Linked DNA regions of Homo sapiens: region 2 is linked to region 1. The links are contacts of gene promoters, found by promoter capture Hi-C in blood cells and fetal thymus (Javierre and others, 2016). All regions are on one chromosome and are shown on one strand. The core of a region is centred on a gene start or on the middle of the fragment in contact, and the rest is flanking DNA. Distances in the headings are between cores, read along the strand shown.

The links. Contacts are between HindIII fragments. The CHiCAGO score rates a contact against its expected background, and 5 or more counts as called.
Region 2: a contact is called between a fragment that was not itself captured here and the fragment with the promoter of IRAG1 in region 1, in 2 of 17 cell types (endothelial precursors and total B cells). The highest score is 6.2, in endothelial precursors.

The regions. Positions count from the first base shown.
Region 1 is chr11:10,690,354-10,698,040 of GRCh38, forward strand. It overlaps IRAG1 (inositol 1,4,5-triphosphate receptor associated 1), which reads right to left and starts at 3,402. Exons shown (of 21, transcript NM_130385.4): 1 at 3,183-3,402. The coding sequence starts at 3,249. The HindIII fragment of the contact is 5,409 bases long and covers 2,237-7,645 here.
Region 2 is chr11:10,427,044-10,434,730 of GRCh38, forward strand. CAND1.11 (a long non-coding RNA gene) reads left to right here. Exons shown (of 4, transcript NR_103765.1): 4 at 3,333-3,630. Among named protein-coding and RNA genes, the nearest start is that of AMPD3, 24 kb to the right of the region's middle. The HindIII fragment of the contact is 1,388 bases long and covers 3,076-4,463 here.

The sequences.
Region 1 (7,687 bases), core at 2,152-4,651:
CAGTGCGAGACCCTGTCTAAAAAAAAAAAAAATGTTTCCTGTCCGACCAACTGTCCTCTGCTTTCCACCTCCCTTGGAGAAAGCCCTTGCAGAGAAGGCAGGGCTTGTCCAGGGTCATGGGCGTGAGTTACCTCTGCTAAGACTCTGAATTTGAAGGCCCATTTGTGAGGCTGCCCTGGACTGTCGCCTGAACTCAGAGTCTAGCCTCCAAGGTCCACAGGACTAACATGATATCCCCTTTCCCTCTATTCGTGATTTTCCTGTGATTTGGACTGTGACACTCAGTAACTGCCCCAGGACCTAAGTTACTAACTAGCGGCAGGGTGACATCTAATGCAGGAAGCGCCCGCTTTGGACCAAGGTGGCTTGAGCTGGAGTCCACCACCTACCAGCTGTATGCCTCTCTCCTCATCTCTAACATGAGGCTTAAATTAAATAACAGATCTAGCACAGATCCTGGCACAAAGTAGAAGCTCAATTAATACCAATTTTCTCCCGTTTCCTTTTACATTCACTACCTGAGAACTCAGCTCTCCATCTCCCTCCTCTGACTCAGCTCCCCAAGGGGCAGGGGCAGGGCCAGAGTCTGGGGGCCCCAAGCTCTCTTCTCCCTATCTACCCAGGCCTCTGCTTCTATTCAGTCAGCAAACAATCCCTCTGCTGACCAATAAGCCCCAGAGAGAGCGGCTGAGGGGCAGTCCAGGCTCTGTGAGGTGACCCAGGAGAGGAGGCAGGGTGAGAGAGGTGGGTAACTTCAGGCCCCCACCTTGTGTTCTTTAGGGTCAAACTAGATGAATCTGATCATCAGGCACATGTACAAAATCAACCCAGGGCCCTGTGTAACCAGAACCCACTTTATAAGCATTGTGTCCATTTATTCACAGAAACATGATTGAACCTGAGCACTTCGTGTGCTCCCGGCATTCTGGGTGCTAGACACACAACGGGTGAGGAACGGGATAAGGTCTCCGCCCTTGCAGGGCTCAGTCTGCTCCTCCAGGAGGTGTGGGGTGCTTCTGTCCACCTCTGTTACAAAGACTTAGAGGAGAAAGGCAGGGCTTTTTAGAAAGCTGAGGACCCATCACGTATAGTTCAGCCCATCAGTCAAGGAACCTAGCTTCCTCACACAGACCCACAGAACTCCTCATCCCCAAACCATGAGCCTCCTCAGCCTCCCAGGGATTCAGTTTCAAGTAGGTTTCACATGGCCCTAACTTCCTCACCCAAGATACTATTTAAATTCCCTGCTTTGTCACTTGGTGGCTGGGTGAGCTTGGACGAGTCATTTAACATCCCCTAGCCCCACTGTCCTCACCTGGAGCAGTAAGGTAAAGATACATCCCCCATGGCATTCTGTGAGGGGGCATGTGAAATCCCTCGTGGAAAGCCTCAGATGCACCATGTTGCAAGGGGGCCGGTGATTCCCCCGCTGCACTCTGACATGGGGTCCCAAGCAGACGGGAGCTGACCATGGAGGTCAAGAGCAGAGCCTCCAGAGACCATGGCCTGGGGCTGAGCATCAGCTGTGCAGTCTCTCTGTGCTAAAGTGTCCTCCTCTACAAGACCAGGGTGGAAAGAATGACCCCTGCTTTGTAGAGCTGTGGGAGTCATGAGTTACTGTATGGGAAGGGGAACAGTGTTCAATACATAGTAAGAACCATGTGTTTGCTGTTTATTTTCTTTCAGAAATATATTTATGGGGATAACCAATCATGTAGTAGCAGCTAGCACATGGTTATCCCTCCAAGATGATAAAGGATACAGGAATGCCTCCCTTACCTCCAAGCATAAAGATAGGTGCATCCGCTGTGAATATAAACAGCCACCCACCAAATATGCATGCACACACACACACATACACGCACTATGGAATCATGGACAGTACAAACATGATAATGACAACTGTTTTGTCCATTAGGTCAAAAATCGCAAGACACAATTGGAGGCAGCATCATACCCTGGCATTCACGTCTGTGTTGAGAGGCATGGGCACTGGAGTTAGAGTCATACAAACTCATACAGGGTTTGAGTCCTAGCTCCGCTCCATCTTGGTGGAACGACCTTAGGCAAGTCACTTAACCTGAGTTCCCTCCCCCATAGAACTGTTGGGGTAGGGGAGTGCAGGGGGATGGGCAACTCCACCTGCCTCACTAGCATGTCATCGTCCCTCGGTGGGGGCAATACAATCCTTGGCAGGTCCTGACTCCTTTGGACCCCCAGCCTCACAGTCCCAGGAAGCTTCCTCCTTTTCCCTGCAAAAGACTCTGCTCAGACCAGATTTACTTCCCTGTGCCACCCCAGTGAGCAGCCTGAAGAGTGTTCAGCAGCTGCCGAGCTCTGGGAGGCTGGAGTGCTGGCCAGGGGTCCCAGACCCCGGGCTGCTGTTTACTCAAACTGCAGAGCCTCTATAGCCTTTACAACTGTTTCCTGGGCAGGAGGGAGCAAGACAGCTGGGCCTCTCTCTGGCCTCTGGCTTCCACTGGCTTTTCCTTTGGAAAAAGCCAGTTCAAATGGTGCTCACTCTAGGAATCGCTTCAACTCGGAGCCCTGGAGGTGAGCAGGGCCGGGCACGGGCCGGGCACATACACCCCCTCTAGGGAGCAGGGAAGGGCACAGGCCAGGGGAAGCTGGAGACAAAAGAGGAGACAGGGACAGAGATAAAAACAGGGACTGTGACAAGAACACAGGATGGGAAGGGCAGAGACAGAAATAGAGGCAGGCTTAAGGATCTAGACAGGTCATGCCAGCCCAGGTTCAAGGCAGAGGGGCGTAGGGGGACAGAGAGAGAGACACAGGAAGCACAGAGGGGAGAAAGCTCTGCTTAGCAGACTTGCCAAAGCTGAAGACCCCACTGTTGCCACAAAGGGGCCCACAGGAAAGCTAGGGGTTGCAATCGCCTGTCAGGACCCACATTTTCACCCTGAGCTGTGCACACTTTCCAACGGCAAGCAAAAGGAGCACAATCTAGTTAAGTTAGGACTGGCAAGATTCACTTCTGATTTAAAACTTAAGACAGCAACAATAAAGATACTCAGCTGAAATGCCACCCAACAAAGCCAGCTCCCCTGGAAAGTTAAAGTTTAGCACCCCCATCCCAGCACCCTGTACCTTTAAGGAAGAGAAGGTTCCCTCCGCTTCCCAGCCGAAGAGGCAGGTTATTCTAGGATATAGGGGAGGCTTACCTAAAACTGAGTTATTCTCCTTTCCTCCTCTGGCCAGCCTCTCTTCACTCTGGGGAGCTTTTACCATTTAAGGTCAATGTTACATCTGGCTCCGGAGCTCAGAGCCGAGAAGCCTCTGGCTGCAGAACCTCGGCCGCACGCCTCCTCTGAGAGGGGCTGGGACTTAGAGCCGAGAGCTCCTCTGGGAGCCCCACTCCGGCCTGGCTCGGGGGATAATGGCAGGGAAAGCCGACCAGCTGGCCTCAGGGCTCAGGGCAGGCTGGGCCTTTGGGGCAGTCGCTCACCCTGGGCCCCTCCGATGGGTATCCACACAGCAGATGGCAGTCCCCATGGCAACTCGTGCCACTGGACACTGTCCTGGCCGGACGGGAACAAAGGGACCCTGCAGATCTCCCCACCCGCCTGGAGCCTCCAGCAAGCATGTGAGCCTGGAGAAGACCCTGGGCCAGCGCCAAGAGAAACTGGGAATGGTTCCTGTCCTGGGGATTCGGGGGCAGGGGCTGCTCCCACTGCGTTAAACTCTTGGGATTGCCAGAGAGAATGGCCTGGGAGATTCAGCTACTCCCAGACTTGGCACCAGCCCCAGGGATGTCAACCTTGCTCCTCCATTAAACAGCCTGTGGTCTTAACATCGTGGAGCCTCAGTCTCCTCATCTCTAAAGTGGAAATAATAATGATAATGCCCGACTCACTAGGTAGTCAGGGGATTAAATGAGATGTTAGTCAAGTGTTTAACACACTGCCAGCATCTCATAAGAGCTAGATCAGTATGAATGAGCTTCCTGCCCCTGCCCAGGAAATCCATACCCTGTCCATACACACTCTTCACCTGCCTTGGGTATAGGGCCTACCCAAGGCCAGGATCATGGAGCTCCAAGCTGGGGGCAAGCCACATGGGGACTTCAGCCCCTTCTGTGGTTAGAGCAGCACAGAGAAACCCTAGGTAAAGTTGCTAGATAAATTACAGGACACCCATTTAAATTTGGATTTCAGATAAACACAGGACATACTTGTATTAAAGACTGTTATTTATCTGAAATTCAAATTTAATTAGTCATCCTCTATTTTTGTTTGATAAATCCGGGAACCCTAGCTTTTGGCCATCATTAGCCACCCAGAAAACATTCAGTAGTCATGGTAGAGAGCACTAGGGATTGGAGCTCCCAGGCCTATGGCCTCAAGCTCTCCTGGCAAACACAGTCCTTATGCTCAGCTCCTGGCCACAGATCAGTTGTGCAGCAGTGGCAGATGCTCTCCACTGAGCCTGGCCCACTGAGCCTCCATCCCAGCACCTTCCTCAGGCATGTGGTTCTCAGGAAGTCCTGTCTCTTCTGTGTGGTTGTTGTAAGAGAGATCACTAACAGGGGTGCAGCGCATGAAGTCCGCTACCCTCATCAATAATTGTTTTTTGTAAATGAAACCAGAGGAGGCTGTCTTGGGTACTAGCCATGCTTTCTCTCAAGTGTCCACACCTGTCCACATGGAGGTACAGGCTCCCCCCACAACCCCCGTCCCCCACAAAGCCACATGGTGGTAACTACTAGAATTGCAAGTATATGGTCTAGAAGGAACTGACCAAACTCTTCAGTGCTGTTTCTCCAACTTCAATGTGCATTAGAACCCCCAAGTGTGAAGCTCCTTGGGTTCCTCTTTCAGAAATTCTAATTCTATGGATCTGACATAGACCCAGAAATCTGCATTTTAGTGAAGGCCCTTGGGTGATTCTCATGTACTTGGTCCAAGGATCCCACATTAGGGAATGTCGCTTCAAAGGTTGATCTTGTGAGTCCAGCAGCAGGCACTACAGGGACAATCAAAATCAGAAGTTGAAATGGAACTTAGGGCTGGCTGTGTGTGTGTGTGTGTGTGTGTGTGTGTGTGTGTGAGAGAGAGAGAGAGAGAGTTCAAAATCATATATCATATTGAGTACCTACTATATTCCTAGCATTAGATTAGATGATTTACATAAAAGCACTCTATCCTCACAAGTGTCTACGCCTTTCCTTCAAAAGGAAACTGAGGCTGGAAGAAGTAAAACAACTTGCTTGATGTTCCACAGCCAGTAAATAAGTGACAGCACTGAGATGTGAATTCAGGTGGTCTGTCCCTAAAGCTCTGTCCTCTTTATCATGCTGCCTCCGTTTCAGCCAGGGTTTCTGAACCCAGGGTTCACGGATAACCTTCAGGGGTCTCTGAGCCAACTGAAATTGCATGTAAGCCACTACGTGGTTTATGTTTCTCTTGGGTAAAGACCCACAGCTTTCACCACACAAAGGCATCACCAAATAACTTTTTAATCATTGCATTAGCAATACCATTTTATAAAACACATGACTTGTCAGTGTGTAAAAATGGAACAAGTTCTATAGAGGACAACTTAGCACTATCAAGATTATACCCTTTGACCCGATTCCACTTCTAGGAATTTATTCTATAAACACACTCCCACACTTGGGAAACGACAAACGAACAAGATTATTCATTGCAGCATTATTTACAAAAGCAAAAGGATTGGAAACAACATAAATGTCTAGCAACTGGGGCCATAACAGAAGATGGAGTGCAGCCACAACAAAGGGTGAGGAAGCTCTTGGTGTACTGATCTGAAAAGATTCCAAGATACATTAAGTAGAAAAACTAAAATAACAGTGTCTATCAAATGCTACTATTTGAGTGAAAAAGAGTGTGTGTGTGTGTGTGTACATATTGTAATATGTACATATATACACGCAAATACATATATATACTTGCATTCATGTATACACACAAGTTCATATGTGAGTATGCATATCATCTCTAAAATTAGCACAAGAAATGAATAACATTTAGATTAGTGGCCAATGGGGAATAAAACTAAGTGGCTGGGGTAAAGACTGACCATGGTTACACCTTATTGATACATTTAAAGTTTTGAATCATATGAGCAAAACATGTGTTTACATTAATAAATAATAACAAAACAAAAGCATTGCTGTAAACAGGGATTTACTCAATTCATCTTCCAGCACTGCTTCCCCCAAGTGTCAAAGGGTATTGTCATGATCCTGACTAAAGGTTATTATTTTTTTTTACTTCTTACTTTGGAATAATTATAGATACACAGGAAGTTACTAAAATAGTACAAAGACTCCTACATACCGTTTACCCAGCTTCCCCAACGGAGACATCTTACATCGGTGTTGTACAGTATATTTCAAAGCCAGGAAATTGGCACTGGGATGCTACTGTTAACTAGACTACACATCTTATCCTAAAGGTTATTTTTAAAAGCATAAATTTCTCACAGCTCACTCATCCATTTAAAAATGCTCATTGGGCACCTTTAGTGTGCCAGACATCATGTGGGACAATGGGATGTGGCAGGAACACTTCAGACCCATCCCTCCCTTGTGTCAGGTAGACCAGTGAAGGCGATCCCTTTACTCCACTGGGAATAGCGTCATGGAGGCCTGGGATCCAGCAACGCACAAGGAGTGCTGACCACAGTTCTAAAAAAGGAACTGTGTCCCTTGCTATCATGGAGCTTCACAGCTTGCCCAAAAGCTGACTTTTAATCCTTAAAAGAGCATGAGCAATTACTCTGGCTATATTTATCCTTGTTCCTGGAGCCACACAGGGATTTGGCCTCGCTCTCCCAAAATCTTCAGCTTCTCACTCATTCCCATCAGAGACAGTCATGTGTCCTCCGCCTAAAAGCAGGGGCCCAGCAGAGGCAGACTGGCACATAGCTCGGGGAGGCTCTCCCAACAGGCCATTTAATCCAAGGCCAGGGAAGAAGTTTTAGAGTCTCAGGCAAAAGACATATCCTTGCACCAAGGGGAGCCAAGCAAGGAAAAACAGCTTCTTGCCAAGAATGCTGCCAGCTCTGCGATCACTTGCTCGGTTGACTTCACTGGGTGTTTTGACTTCCCTACCCCTTTTAGACTTAGGAACTCTGTGATATGCTCAGCACTCAGCCCTGGATGAGTGAGTGAGCAAATAAGAGACCACATCTCTAGGAACTGCACCCAGGCAACAATGACAGGTATCATTTACTGAACATGGTGTCAGGCACTGTCACCCACTTTACATACTGAACATGGTGCCCAGCACTGTCAGCCACTTTACATATACGGTAGAGTTCATCCTCACCAAATCCATGTGGTGTGGAGCTTCTCACCCTCACATCCTAGATGGGGAAACAGATGCAGGGCAGTCAAGATGCCTGCCGATGTCTTGCAGGGCATAAACCCAGATCTCTCTGACTTTAGAATTCCCGGGTGTCAGGTTTGAGACTACAAACTGGGAACACAGGTGTCGCTCCCTGTCCCACAACCCCATTAAAATGATAGCAAAGAACTCCTTAAAAAGGAATAAATTCTTAGCCACAGAGGAATGGAGGGAGAGGGCAGGCATGAGTGGACATATTTCTGGAAGCTGGGAAGGGCATAGAAGAGAGGTGCCTAATGAGGCAGGGAGAAGGAAGCTTCGGCCTAGCCCTAGACGACATCTAGAGAGGGAGGTCA
Region 2 (7,687 bases), core at 2,520-5,019, 260 kb before region 1:
TCTCTTCTAATTTCTTTTGCAAAGAAGACTGAAAGCCAGCTTATCTAGTAGGCACATTAGGGACCAGCCCTATAAAAAAGTATTAATTTTAATTTCTTTTAAAAATAGAAAAAAATGAATATAAAATATATAACAACGAACCCAAACTGGATTATATTTGTCTTTATACTCATGAATTCATAAAATATAATTTTAAGTATTATTTTATGGAGGAAGGAGCTCAGAAAGACAAACGTATTGGGGACTCACAAAAGCCATAAATAATTTGGCCCTGATATTGGCCCTGATAGGACCCTGACTCATTGGCCATTTTGGTGCATTGACTTGCTGTGTAAATTTGGATATGTTTCTTAATATAAGGGTTTTTTTTTTCTGCCAGAAAAATGGGAAGAAAAATTTCTGTACCCGCTTATTTCCCAGGGCTTTTGTTAAGACAAAGGTAATAACTCTGACAGTGTCTAAACTTTTCAGAAGATTGGTTTATATAATAGGACTATTTCAATTGCACATAACAGGTATCCATCTCAAATCAACATAGAAAGAAAGGAAATATATTGGTGATCATAACTGAAAACTCTAGGTTTCAGCTTTAAGTGTAGCTGGCTCAGGAAACCCAAAAATTTTGCCAGGAATCTGTTTCTCTCTTTTCCTCTCTTGTGGGCCTGCTTCTCTCTATGATGAATTTCTTTCCTAGCACACTTTTCCCACATGTTGAAAGAATCTCAAAGACTCCAGGTTTTCAGAATCCTTAAGCTTGTGACCTCAGAAGAAGAGACTCCTCCTAGAGCCCCCCCTGTTCCTCAGAGGACTCCAACTGCTCATTGCTTGGGCATCTTGGACATCCCTGTGTCCAGGGGATGGGTCTTCTGTCTGGCCAGCTTGTCATATTTGCCCCTCTTCCTCCCTATTACTTGAGTGGCAGTCCCACAAGTCTCCCTTGGAAGCAAGGGCAGAACCATTTCTAAGTGAAGAAACACAAGCAGACCAAATAACATGTCCATTCCAGGGCTGATCAGTCTGAGGCATTGTTAAAATTATCCCTCTTGCAGGACGTTAGAACCAATTGAGATTCATTCAGAACCTCTACTTAATTTTCCAGATGTGAGTTCTGTGTGTGACCATCAGGGTTTAGTAGATACTGCACAGACTCATTTAATTGTCACAAAACCTGTGAGGCAATTATTAGCTCTACTTCTACAGATAATAAATGTAAAAAATTATTGAGAGCTTGCCATAAACTAAGCACTTTGCTAAAAACCCTACATATATCTAATAAAAATTCCATGAGGTGCTGAGTCTGTTGAGGTTCTTTAGATTGTAAGCAACAGAAACCAAATCTAGCTAGTCAGGAAAAGAACAAATGAATTGAAAGGATGATAGAGTATCTAATGGATACCCTGTCAGAGGAAGGATTGAACAATCAAAACTTGGAAGGACAAGAACCCATTCTTGCCTGATCTTGTCCCCTTAGGAGGTGAATTTGGGGTTAAACCTGGTGCAGCACTGCTAGCTCCTAGCCCCTATTATCACTCTGTTCCAAATACCACGTTTCAGGGTGGGAGAATCTGATTGGCCTATCTTGGGTCAGGTGTATATCCCTGGACCAATCAGGTTGAAGGACCCTGTAACATAGGCATGGCCACCAGGCTCTCTCAGGTTTATATAGGAGCTGTGCTCAGAGAAATGGAATCCCTGTGAGCTGATTGGTCACTCAAAGGGAGATAACTGCAAGCACACAATTCTATCACTCAGGGCTTTGGCACATTGAAAAGTGGGTAATTGAAGAGCATTTAATGAGGGGATTAAGTGAGAAGAGTTTAGGGAAAGCAACAAAGGATGTTGCAGTATCTTGGGGCTAGTGAGTATGGGAGCTGTTACCATCCCAGGCCTGAAGGGGAAAGAGGAGGTAGTGGCTTCTGGAACCTATGGAAAGAGCTGTCAAAAGGCTGCCTGAAAGTAGTTTCAGTCTCTGGGAGAGGGTCATAACCAACCCTTAGCAACCCAGTGGTGTGGGTACCAGGGGAATAAGCACCAAGATGTCACTCTCCTCCCACCTTCCCATTTCATGGGTGCAACTAGAAGCCAGAGGGCAAAGGAGTCCCTGGATGTGGTTCATATAGGCCATCCTCCTGGGACACAGGTCAGGGTAGAGAGGAATGAGAGCACATATGGAAGGGCAAATAGAAGACATCCAAGACAATAATACAAATCCCAGTTTACAGATGAATAATCTAAGGCTTGAAGGACTTAGTGACTTCTTTAGATTCACACAATCAACTCAAGGGAGGAGCTAGGACTTGAACTCAGCAAGTCTGACTCTGGAACCTGTGCTCTTAACCACTAGGCTCTATCATCTCTCGGATGAAGACCCTGAATTCAGACAGCAGATTGACTGTGCACAGCTCAGATGAATTACGTTATCTCACTGATCCCCTTGTAGTATCACCTCTTAGCTGCGGCAACAACAAGAGCTCCTAGTCCTGCTTCCCAGAATGGTGCTGGAAGATTCACACTTGCCATTTTCCCTCTAGACTCTCCCACTGGGATTCGCAGATCTACAGAGTGGTTTGAAATATCAGAGGCAGCCCAAGTAGAGTCCAAGCTTCTTGCCACCAGGCAGGCAGCTCTACTCTCCTGTGAGTAGGGATATGATTGAGATTTAAATTGAACTTCAATTAAGTCTCTCCTCTCTTAGTCCTCAGGGGGGCATTCTCATGCCTGGACTAATGCACTTCTGAGAGCTAATACCATTATCAGATGCCTGTTCATCTCATATAAGTAGGCCTATTAGCGCCTCATCTGTCTTGCCTCCTGTTTCCTGCCACTGCTTAGAGCCCCCAGACAAGAGCACTTCCAATCAGGTATGCAGAGGGAAATATCATTAACAGTTATAATATTATCTGTATGGTTTTATTTCATGTCCCATTATTTTCTAGCTCTTTAGCTAATAATAGGTTATATCTGTTATACATTTAATGTATGCTAGGTACTGCACTGAAATGTCTCATTTCATGTTGACAATAAACCTAGGAGGTAGGTAATATTTAATCCCCACTTTACAGATGAAGAAACCGAAGCTTATAGGGCTTAAGTATGCCTAAGGTGACATAATTAATAGACAGCAGATCCAAGATTTGAACCCAGATGGACTGGCTCCAGAGCTAAAACCACTTAATCATGATGCTTCTTAGAACCCTACATGGCCTGTATTCATAAAATAGTTGACTCTAGACACTCTTCTCCCCTTTCAAAGTGAAATTTTGATTTGTTTATGGAATGGGGTGTGGTGGAGACTACTAGTGATCACCAAATACCAATGTGTTCCTATAAAGTCCCTATTTCTGTTGCAGTTGATTTGGAGTTATGTGATGTGTAGCCCATCAGAAGTAAGCAGAAAACTTTGTGCCGTTTTCTATCCTGGAAATAACACCCCCGCCCCCTGGCCCCGCTGCATTATCAGCCACTCCTCTTCACTCCTTTCTATGGCTCCAGAAGTGAAGAGCTCTGAAATGCCTAAATTGCCAGATGGGAACATCTTTACTGCTTGGAGAAAGCCACACAGGAGTTACCTGACCTGCCTTGGATGGTGACATGAGTGAGAAATAAACCTTTGTTGGGTTAGACTGCTAAGATTTAAACTTAAAAGTGTTTTTTTAATGTTTAGTTTTTGTGGCTACATAGTAGGTGTATATGTTTATGGGGTATATAGGATCTTTTGATATGTGCATACAATGTATAATAGTCACATCAGGGTAAATGGAGTATCATCACCTCAAACATTTATTCTTTCTTTGTGTTACAAACAATCCCATTACACAGTTTTAGTAATTTAAAATATATAATTAAATTATCGTTAATGATAGCCACCCTGTTGTACTGTCAAATTCTAGATCTTATTTCTTTCTATTTTTTGTACCCACTGATGAATCTCTCTTCCCCCTCACCCCACCAACTACCCTTCCAGCCCTCAGTAACCATCATTCTGCTCTCTATCTCCATGATTCAATTGTTTTAGTTTTTAGCTCTCACAAATAAGTGAGAACATGTGAAATTTGTCTAACTGTGTCTGGCTTATTTCACTTAACATAATGACCTCCAGTTCTATCCATATTTTTGCAAATGACAGGATCTCATTTATTTAATGACTGAATAGTACTCCATTGTGTATATGTATTACATTTTCTTTATCCCTTTGTCTATTGATGGACACTTAGGTTGTTTCCAAATCTTGGCTATTGTGAATAGACACTAAGATTTTTGAGTTAATTTATTACTAGGGTATAGTTTATCATACTATGACTAATATAAATATCATACTAAGACAGATATAGGTACATTGAAATAGGGCACTGCTATAATAGCTGATGGTGTGCTGAGAGGAAGCCTGGTGTTGGAGACCAGAAATATGTCAATGCATGTTATGTTGTGCCAAAATATTACTAACCAATCTAACTTGGGAGGCAAGCTTCATATTTACTTATATGGCATCTCTAGGAAAAGAGACTGAAAAACAGAACATTAGTAGATGTGTTGGCTACTATTTCTGCATTTGGCAAGTATTACAAGAAAACTTCAGAATAGGACTGGCCAGAGACTTGCAGAATGGACAATACATGATCCAACTATATGCTGCATATAAGAGACACATGTTTGATTCAAAAACAGAAATAGGTTCAAGGTAAAAGAATGGAAAAACATATATCAGGCAAACAGTAACCAAAAGAAAGCTGGAGTGGCTATACTAATATCAGACAAAATAGACTTTAAGACAAAAATTGTTATCAGAGACAAAGAACAGTTTTATAATTATAAATAAATCAATTTGTCAAGAAGATATAAAAATTATAAACATATATGCACCTAACAACAGAGACCCAAAATACATGAAACAAAAACTGACAGAATTGATACAATAATGGTTGAAGACTTCAATACACCACTTTCAATCATGGATAGAGCAACTAGACAGAAAATCAATATGGGAATAGAGACTAAATACCAATATAAACATACTAGATCTAATAGCAATATAACCCTTCACTCAGAAACAACTGACTATACATTCTTCTTAAGTGCACATGGAGAATTCTCCAGTTTAGACCATATGTCAGGTCATTAAACAAGTTTCAGTAAATTTCAAAGTTCTGAAATAATATAAAGTATGTTTCCTAACCACACAGAATGAGATTAGAAATCAATAACAGAGGGAAATTCACAAATATATGGAAATTAAAGAACATTTCTGAATAATCAATGAGTCAAAGAAGAAATCACAGACAAAACTAGAAAATACTTTGAGATGAATGAAAATAAAAACATGACATACCAAAACTTATGGGATGAAACCAAAGCAGTGCTTAGAGAATATTATAGCTATAAACACCCAAATTGAAAAAAGGACAAAGAACTCATATTAGTAACCTAAACTTCTACCTTAAGGAACTAGAAAAACAAGAGCAAACTAAACCCAGAACAAGCAGAAGGAGGAAACCAATAAAGATTAGAGCAGAAAGGAATGAAATGTAAATAGAAAAGAATAGAGAAAAAAAAACAAACCCAAAAGTTGGTTCTTTGAAAAGGTCAACAAAATTAACAGACCTTTACCTTGACTGACAGAGAGAGAGAGAGAGAGGGAGAGCATAGAGAGAGAGAGAGAGAGAGACAGAGAGAGAGAGACAGAATCAAATTACTAAAATCAAGAATGAAAGAGGGGATGTTGCTACCGACCTTGCAAAAATAGAAAGGAATATAAGGTAATATTATGAACACTTGTGTGCTAATGTGTTAGATAATCTAGATAAAATGAACAGATTCCTAGAAAGACACAAATTACTGAAATTGACTCAAGAAGAAATAGAAAATTGAAACAGACCTGTAACAAGTAAAGAGATTGAATTAGTGATTAAAAGTACTTGCCACAAAGAAAAGTAGATGACAAATGGCCTCACTGGTGAATTTTATAATACCTAGTATTAAAGAGTTAAGCCCAATACTTCACAAATACTTCCAAAAATTATAAGAGGAGAGAACATTTTCCAAGTCATTCTATGAGGCAGTATTACTTTGATACCAAAGGCAGAACAAAATATCACAAGCAGAAACCAATATTCCTTATAAATATAGATGCAAAATCCTCATAAAAATACCGGGAAACTGAATCAGCAACATATAAAAAGTATTTTATACCATGACAAAGCAGGACTTATGGCAGGAATGCAAGATTGATTCAACATGCAAAAATCAATAAATGTAATATGCCATATTAATAGTATAAAGGACAAAAACCACATTATCATCTTAATAGATGAAGAAAAAGCATTTGACAAAAACCAGCACCTTTTCATGGTCAAAACACACAACAAAGTAGGAATTAGAAAGAAACTTTCTCAATCTTCTAAAAAGCATATATGAAAACCCCACAGCTAACATCATACCTAAAGGTGAAAGAATAAAAGCTTTCCCCTAAGATAGGAATGAAACAAGGATGTCCACTCTTGTTACTTCTATTCAACATTGTACTGGAGGTTGTAGTTAGGGAACTTGATCAAGAAAAAAATTGGCATCTATATTTGAAAGAAAGAAGTAGAATGATCTTTACTTGCAGATAACATCTTACTGAATATAGAATATCAAGGGAATCCACAAAAAAAATCTTAGAGCTAACAATGAGTTCAGCAAGGCTGCAGGATATAAGGTTAATATACAGAAATTGCTTGTATTTCTGTACACTAATAATGAACAATCCAAAAATGAAATTAAGAAAATAATTCCATTTACAGTAGCATCAAAAAGAATAATATATGTAGAGACAAACTTAACAAAAGAATTGCAATATTTGCACACTAAAAAAAGATGAAACACTGCTAAAGGAAATTAAAGAAGACCTAAATAAATGAAGACATCGCATATTCACAAATTGGAAGACTCAATATTGTAAGATGGCAGTACTCCCCAAACTGATGTATGCTTTTGAATAATATACAGTATGTTCCCTAACCACAACGGAATGAAATTAGAAAATCCCAGCCAGGTTTTTGCAGAAATTGACAAGCTGATAATAAAATTCATGTGGAAATACAAGGGATCCAGAATAGCCAAAATAATCTTGAGAAAGAAGAACAAAGTTGGGGCATTCACATTTTCAGGTTCAAAACTTACTACAAAGTGTAATAATAAAGATAGTGTGGTACTAGCATAAGGATAGATATATAAATCAATCAACAGAGAGTCCAGAAATTAGCCCACGTATTTATAGCCAATTGATTTTCAATAAAGGTGCCAAGACCATTCAATAAGGAATGAATAGTCTCTTCAACAAATGGAGCTGAGAAAACTGGATATCCATGCAAAAGAATGAAGTTGGACTACTACTCACACTGTACACAAAAATTAATTCAAAATTATCAAAGATCTAAACTTAAGAGCTAAAACTATAATACTCTTAGAAGAAAACATAGGTATACATGGCCTTGGATTATGCAATGATTTCTTACATATGATACCAAAAGCACAAGCAACAAAAGAAAAAACAGTCTTCATCAAAATTAAAGGACACTATTAAGTGTTTCAAAGAACACTATAAAGAGAGTGAAAAGACAACTCAGAACTTGAGAAAATATTTGCAAGTCATGTGTATCTGATAAACATCTAGTATCCAGAATATATAAAGAACTATTATAACTCAATA